2 separate regions of the Homo sapiens genome follow, and region 1 is linked to region 2. Evidence: promoter capture Hi-C in 16 types of primary human blood cells and fetal thymus (Javierre and others, 2016). All regions are on one chromosome and are shown on one strand. The core of a region is centred on a gene start or on the middle of the fragment in contact, and the rest is flanking DNA. Distances in the headings are between cores, read along the strand shown. Region 1 overlaps SFMBT1 (Scm like with four mbt domains 1). Region 2 holds the start of ITIH4-AS1 (ITIH4 antisense RNA 1).

The links. Contacts are between HindIII fragments. The CHiCAGO score rates a contact against its expected background, and 5 or more counts as called.
Region 1: a contact is called between a fragment that was not itself captured here and the fragment with the promoter of ITIH4-AS1 in region 2, in 1 of 17 cell types (M1 macrophages). The highest score is 5.6, in M1 macrophages.

What each region holds. Positions count from the first base shown.
Region 1 is chr3:53,011,208-53,014,867 of GRCh38, reverse strand. All of the region lies in intron 1 of SFMBT1 (Scm like with four mbt domains 1), which reads left to right. Among named protein-coding and RNA genes, the nearest start is that of SFMBT1, 33 kb to the left of the region's middle. The HindIII fragment of the contact is 5,176 bases long and covers 1-3,660 here.
Region 2 is chr3:52,821,626-52,825,474 of GRCh38, reverse strand. ITIH4-AS1 (ITIH4 antisense RNA 1) reads right to left here and starts at 1,540. Exons shown (of 3, transcript NR_046615.1): 1 at 1,482-1,540; 2 at 1,138-1,363; 3 at 161-270. ITIH4 (inter-alpha-trypsin inhibitor heavy chain 4) reads left to right here. Exons shown (of 24, transcript NM_002218.5): 7 at 517-633; 8 at 910-1,078; 9 at 1,160-1,285; 10 at 1,471-1,652; 11 at 1,734-1,919. RefSeq lists a silencer at 1,059-1,216. The HindIII fragment of the contact is 13,495 bases long and covers 1-3,553 here.

The sequences.
Region 1 (3,660 bases), core at 258-2,757, 190 kb before region 2:
ATGCTTTCATTTTGGGGGTCCTCCAGATTCATAGTTTCTCTCTGCTGTATTAACATTTATGCTGGCTGTGTCTTTATTCATTCACTCACTCCATCACACACTGAGGGCCTGTCCTTTAGAGTCTAGTCCCAAGAGAGCCTAGGACTCACCCCTGTCAGAGACTGTGACACCTGATTTTGTGTTGCGAAAATAAAGAATATTGTAAAAATAGTTGTACAGTTTATAAGGTAGACTAGATGTACTACTGTTGGTCTCCAGAGCTTTTTATGAAGATCTGTTATCAGTAAAAGCTCTCAGATAGGTTTCTTCTTGTTAGTTGATTCATTGGGTGGTGGTTCTAGAAACTGTTTTGTTTTGTTTTGTTTTGTTTTGTTTTGTTTTGTTTTGTTTTTTTTAAATACAGGGTCTCTCACTCTGTCACCCAGGCGGGAGTGCAGTGGTGTGATCACGGCTCACTGTAAACTTGACCTCCTGGGCTCAAGCGATTCTCCTGCCTCAGCCTCCCAAAGTGCTGGCATTACAGGCATGAGCCGCTGCGCCTCACCTAAAAACTTTCTAAGAAGTGATCTCAATTCTTTCCTGAATTGAGGCTTTAGGACATTCAGTGAAATGCCTAAGAAGAAATGATAGAAGATGAGGAAATCCATTTTGGAAAAAGCCTTACATGTAAATATTTTATTTTTGAATGGCAGGCAGCTCGGTGTGTTGGCAGAATAACTTAGGTTATGGATTTGGCTGTCATTTACTAGTTGTGTGATATTTGATAAGTTAAATAACTTCTTTGAGTCTCTTATTTCCTGACCTTTAAAATGGGAATATTTCAAATGGTGGTGGGATGGAAGAGGTATCATATCACATGGTGCCTAGTGCGGTAAGCACTAAGTGTCAGCTCTCTTCCTCCCTGACTGCAAGGCAGTTTATTTAAATAAAATGATTCTTGGCCGGGAGCAGTGGCTCACACCTGTAATCCCAGCACTTTGGGAGGCTGAGATGGGCGGATTACCTGGGATCAGGAGATCGAGACCAGCCTGACCAACATGGTGAAACCCCATCTCTACTAAAAATACAAAAATTAGCTGGGTGTGGTGGTGGGCGCCTGTAATCCTAGCTACTTGGGAGGCTGAGACAGGAGAATCGCTTGAACCCAGGAGGCGGAGGTTGCAGTGAGCTGAGATTGCGCCATTGCACTCCGGCCTGGGTGACAGAGCAAGACTCCATCTCAAAAAAAAAAAAAAAAAAAAAAAAAAAAAAAGATTCTTTATAAATAAACTGTGTTCCTTCTTGAAGTAATTAAATTTACTATTAATGGATTATTATCTAATAGTAACAAAATGGTGAGAGCATTTTGGCAAGAGCAAATATAGTAATCATTTCCTAGAATGTGAAAAAAGTTGATTCCAGCTAGCAGTGGATAGAAAAGTGAATTTAGCAGAAACTCACCTCTGGTCTGTTTTGAACAACTTAGCCATACAATACCACTAAGAGTTATACTCAAGACGTAATATTCTTTGGCAATTCTAAGTTTACCTGTTCCCTGTTGTCCACCTAGAAGAGTTTTACTCTTTAGGTGAAAGATTGAAGAATGATTACCCTTACCATTTTGAGTAGAAACTAGTGCATAAATTGTAACTTAGCAAGTTTCATGAATGAATTGTACTATCTCAACTTAGAGCCCATCACTGGAAATATTGATGAAAATATTTTCCATTGAAGCAGCAAGTGTTTTTGCCAACATTATAATCAAATCCAGTAGCTCCACAATTCCTAAAGCAGATTTTCAGATGATTGTGATTGGTCTTTTAGATGCTTTTTCAAAATATGGTTTACGGTTTGGGAAAGGTAGTATAAAATATTTATAATTTTTTATGGGTTTTTTTGTATTTTTGTTATTAGTCTCTTTAGCATTGAGTTTTGAGAGATGTTAGCTTTTCAACTATAAAGCAGGTGAAATATGCTCCAATCAGTGTATGTTAATTTGTTATATTTATAGCTGAACTAGATTTGCTGGTGATGGAAATTTAGCCTGCAAAAACTAAATTGTGTCTTCCATTTTCCCATAATTGCATTACCTTGAATCATATGATATGTAGGCCCTAACCTTTGACTTTTGGGTTTGTTGGCCAGTGTTTTCCTATTACTAAAATAAGCAAAGGATTAAGAGCACTCGGCCGGGCGCGGTGGCTCACGCCTGTAATCCCAGCACTTTGGGAGGCAGAGGCGGGCGGATCATGAGGTCAGGAGATCGAGACCATCCTGGCTAACACAGTGAAACCCCGCCTCTACTAAAAATACAAAAAATTAGCCGGGCGTGGTGGCGGGCGCCTGTAGTCCCAGCTACTCGGGAGGCTGAGGCAGGAGAATGGCGTGAATCCGGGAGGCGGAGCTTGCAGTGAGCTGAGATCGCGCCACTGCACTCCAGCCTGGGCGACAGAGCGAGACTCCGTCTCGGGAAAAAAAAAAAAAAGAGCACTCACTGCAAGGCACTTCTGTCCTTTTTAGCAGCCATTGAATCTTGTCCATTTGCTGCGCAGCGACTTAAATGCCTACTTCTTATTCACGGCCTTCAGTTTGTATCTGTCCTTCTCTTCTCAGCCACCCACATCGTAGCCTCGGCTTCCACCACACAACTGGAAATCTCTCCCAGAGGGTGCCAGTAACCTTTGTAGTGGCAAGGCCAGTGTCCTTTCTTTTCTCAGCCTTTATTCTCTTGAATTTCCTTTCATGTTTGGCTTTGTCATTGGTGCACTCCTCTTTGTGAGAGGAAACTTTCTAGGTTTCCTACCTCTCAATTTTTTCTGTATTTAATTTATACAAAGTGGCTCATGTAGTGGCTGGCACATAGATACTTAAAAAGTGTTAGTTCCTACCTCTCTTTTTTTGTGGTCTCTCCTTCATTCTCTGTTCATTTCTCCGTGAGATTTTCTGATTAGTAGTTACCTTCAGCATGCCAGTTGACTTGCAAACCTACAATCCAACCTTTCTTCTACTTTGTCATCTGACAACAGCCTGGTTTGTAGCTGATTCCAGGACTTCTTCACTTGGGTGGCCACTCTCATTACCACAGAGTTCACTAGTCATGGTGAACACACCAGTCTTTTACACCTCCCTCACTCCCAAACCTCAGTTCTTCTTAACTACTATCCCAGTATTTTCAGTGGCACCAGTATTTATTTTCCTTTTCACATGCTAGAATTTGGAGTCATCTTTGATTTTTCTGTCATTTCCTACTTTGAAATGTCTCTTAGGCTCAATCCTTTGACACCATTCTGATGGCCGCTTCTCTGCTTTAAGCCCACAGCCTTTGATCTCTGGGCTAGTCCAACACCTTCCTGCTGGTCTGCTGCTGGTCCTAACTGCCCTTTAACTGAGTATATGTCACTTGGCAGCTATAAAATGTAGCACTCCTCAAGTCTTTCCTGTTTGGTGCTGTTTGTGTACTATAGAACTTTTATGTATTATATGTACTCTTCTGTGGGGCCTCGTTATCTATGCCAGCAGATTGATCCCTCCTGCCACCTTACACACGAGCATACTTTCCACCCTGCCCCTTGCCGACCTGATGCCAGCCTGATGCCAGCCTTGGTACCCTTTGCATGCTGCTTGGCCTGCTGGGAATGCCTTCCACCCTTTCCTCTACCTTTCCAAGATTCTGTCTGTCCT
Region 2 (3,849 bases), core at 291-2,790:
AGGCGTGCACCACCACACCTGGCTAATTTTTTTTTTTTTTTTTCCAGTAGAGACAAGGTTGCCCAGGCTGGTCTTGAATTCCTGGGCTCAAGTGATCCTCCCACCTAAGCCTCCCAAAGTGCTGGAATTACAGGCGTGATTCACCACACCCAGCCATTTCTGCCATTGTTATTATACTTCCCTTTTACTCCATGTTTTTGAAGTCTTCCCTCTTTTGATGGTTGTCAGGTTTATGATGTCTGAACTTTTTAGTATAAACCATCTGAAATACTAAAACAAATAGAAGGAAAAGTTGCAGGGAGAGTTCTGGTGGGCTATGCATGAGCAGGGAAGGCTTCCGCAAGAAAGGGGCTGGTCTGAGCCCTGAAAAAGGGCAAGGTTTTGGGGAGGTTAGCAGTGGGATGGAAATGGGATTGGAACAGAGCACAGAAACCCAGAATTTGGGGTAAAGGGGCTGAATGGGGATAGGGCCAATTGTAGCTCTGATGGCCTGGGTGGGTCTCACTCTGGCCACAGATCGAGAACGGCTACTTTGTACACTACTTTGCCCCCGAGGGCCTAACCACAATGCCCAAGAATGTGGTCTTTGTCATTGACAAGAGCGGCTCCATGAGTGGCAGGAAAATCCAGCAGGTAGGTCCTGTGGCCCAGGGCAGGGCCCTGAAAACTCCCAGGCCCTTCACGCTATCAGCTGTGGTCCGGCAGGCAGACCCCCTTGCTTCACCTTTCGGCACCATGGGGCGGGTGGCTCTCAGGAACCAAGGTTGGCCAGAGCCTAGGGCAGCCCCTGTTCCTAGAGCAGATACCATGACCTCACCCCTGAGACAGGAGTCCAAGGATGCCAGCCCTAGGGCACACGAGCCCTCAGGGAGCCCTTCTGAAGCACCTATGTTTCCTCTCCCTGACCAGACCCGGGAAGCCCTAATCAAGATCCTGGATGACCTCAGCCCCAGAGACCAGTTCAACCTCATCGTCTTCAGTACAGAAGCAACTCAGTGGAGGCCATCACTGGTGCCAGCCTCAGCCGAGAACGTGAACAAGGCCAGGAGCTTTGCTGCGGGCATCCAGGCCCTGGGAGGTAAGTGTCTCTGTGGCCCTGCAGGGTGGGGGCTTCCAGGGCTCCTGGCTGGGGACCACCTTGAGAGTGCGTGTTCCTCAGGGACCAACATCAATGATGCAATGCTGATGGCTGTGCAGTTGCTGGACAGCAGCAACCAGGAGGAGCGGCTGCCCGAAGGGAGTGTCTCACTCATCATCCTGCTCACCGATGGCGACCCCACTGTGGGTGAGGGCCCTGCCCGTGACTCCAGGACGTGCTGCACAGGGGAGGCGGCTGGGGCTGCACCTGGGCTTGCTGTGGGATCTGGGCAGGGAGAGGGGGTCACTGAGGCCCCTCGGCTCTGAGGTTCCAGAAATATTCTTCAAGCAAATCACTATTTTCTCACCCTCATCCCAAACCCCTGGGTCCAGGGGAGACTAACCCCAGGAGCATCCAGAATAACGTGCGGGAAGCTGTAAGTGGCCGGTACAGCCTCTTCTGCCTGGGCTTCGGTTTCGACGTCAGCTATGCCTTCCTGGAGAAGCTGGCACTGGACAATGGCGGCCTGGCCCGGCGCATCCATGAGGACTCAGACTCTGCCCTGCAGCTCCAGGTGCCAGTGTGCCCCAGGTGGGCTGCACAGAGAAGTGGGCAGTCATAAAGCCCAGCCTTTATGACACCCCCAACCCTGCAGGACTTCTACCAGGAAGTGGCCAACCCACTGCTGACAGCAGTGACCTTCGAGTACCCAAGCAATGCCGTGGAGGAGGTCACTCAGAACAACTTCCGGCTCCTCTTCAAGGGCTCAGAGATGGTGGTGGCTGGGAAGCTCCAGGACCGGGGGCCTGATGTGCTCACAGCCACAGTCAGTGGGAAGCTGGTGAGTGTGGCCAAAGCCACCCTGGAGGGGAATGGCAGCCTCCACCTCTGCAGCCAGAGGGGCTGGACTCAAATCCCAGACCTGCCCAGCTCCAGCTTTCCCCTCTGCTGCCTGTGGATGACACAGGGGCATGGCAGGGATTCAATGAGACAATGGAGTGATTCTCATGAGACCAGCACATACAGGCTCTCGGCAGCCGGTCTGTGCACCTGCAAGCACAGGTGAGGGCAGGGATTCCTCCCTAGTTGTCATCCCTTCCTGTCCTGGTACCACAACCCTCTCAGGTTGCAGTCAGACAGGGAGGGCTGCTCCTATTTCACAAATGAGCAGACTGAGCTCCAGGCAGGGCAGGCAGCTTTCCCCGGGCCCCACTGCAACCAGGCCAAGAGCCCAGCTTGCCACGTGGCACCCTGTCCTTGCCCAGCCTTCCCTGCCTCCTTCCAGGGACCCCCTGTCATTTCCACAAAGAGAAACTGAGCACAAGCTCTGCGGCAGGGCCTTCTTCAGGCCCTGGGATGCAGCAGTGAATGAGGCTGACCCCTCCGTGCCCTCATGGGAGAGACAACCCAAGGACATATCACCACACAAACCAGCTACAGGCTGGGATCTAACCCTGGACTCAGGAGAGCAGCACCAGGAGCCCCAGCCTGGCCTGGGGATCAGGGAGGGCTTCCTGGAGGAGGCCCAGCAGAGACAAAAGGATAAGTAGGAGGTGGGAAGAGTCCAGATGGGGCAATGGAGGAATATGTTAGGCCCCTGTGGCATGAGGGCAGCGTGTGTGAAGAGAATAGGAGTGGGCGTTGGGGGCCCATGGCCTTGTTTCAGGACAAGTCCCCAAGTGTCATGACTGTTGGTACGGTCTGCGTGGCCACCCTGCCTGGCTTCAAACCCAGCTCTGCCACCTCCCAGATAGGAGACATGGAGAAGTCACTTAACCTCCATCTACTGCAGTTTCCTCCTATGTAAACATGGGAATAAGTCGCATGCCCCCCTCATAAAGTCACTGTGATTGATGTCCAGTGATAAGCACTCCATACATGTCAGCAGGTGATTTAGCTTGGAGGCCGTGGGTTCCCAAAGTACAGAACCCAAGGTGACTCAGGGGAGTTCACAGACAGACATGGCTTGTTTTAGTGGTTATTTACTTATTTTAATGTGTATTCTGAAAAATATGACCTGAACTTCAGACCTAAGATTTTTTTTTTTATTTTTTGAGATGGAGTCTCGCTCTGTCTCCCAGGCTGGAGTGCAGTGGTTGGATCTCGGCTCATTGCAAGCTCCACCTCCCAGGTTCACACCATTCTCCTGCCTCAGCCTCCCAAGTAGCTGGGACTACCAGCATCCACCACCACACCCGGCTAATTTTTTGTATTTTTAGTAGAAAGGGAGTTTCACCTTGTTAGCCAGGATGGTCTCGGTCTCCTGACCTCGTGATCTGCCCACCTTGGCCTCCCAAAGTGCTGGGATTACAGGCGTGAGCCACCGCACCTGGCCCAGATCTAAGATTTTATGGACATAAAGCCAAGTAAAAATTGTTAGCTTACTTAAAGTTCATTTAAGGAAAAATATCAATTAAATAGCTGTATGTGTGGATGGGGCAAAATTCATGCAGGTAGCCTATGTGTGCCAAAGCTTTGGAAAGCCAGCCAGGCTCTGGGCGAGAGACAGGCTGCTCCAGTGGGAGCAGACCGCAGATCTGATCCGCACTGTGAAAAGGTCTCTTGGCCACTCAGGGAGCTCTGGTGGGAGAGGCCTGGGATTCCTCTGCCCTAGGAGCCCATTTCCCAGGCAGCGAGCTAGGTCAGTCTGAGACCACAGGCCCCTCCCTGAGGGAGGAGGGAGCAGGTTCACACAGAGCTTGGGTGCATGCTTCCCTGTCATTGTCCCACGGTGGCCAGCCGCAGAGGGGCCAGCTTGGACAGGGACAGCC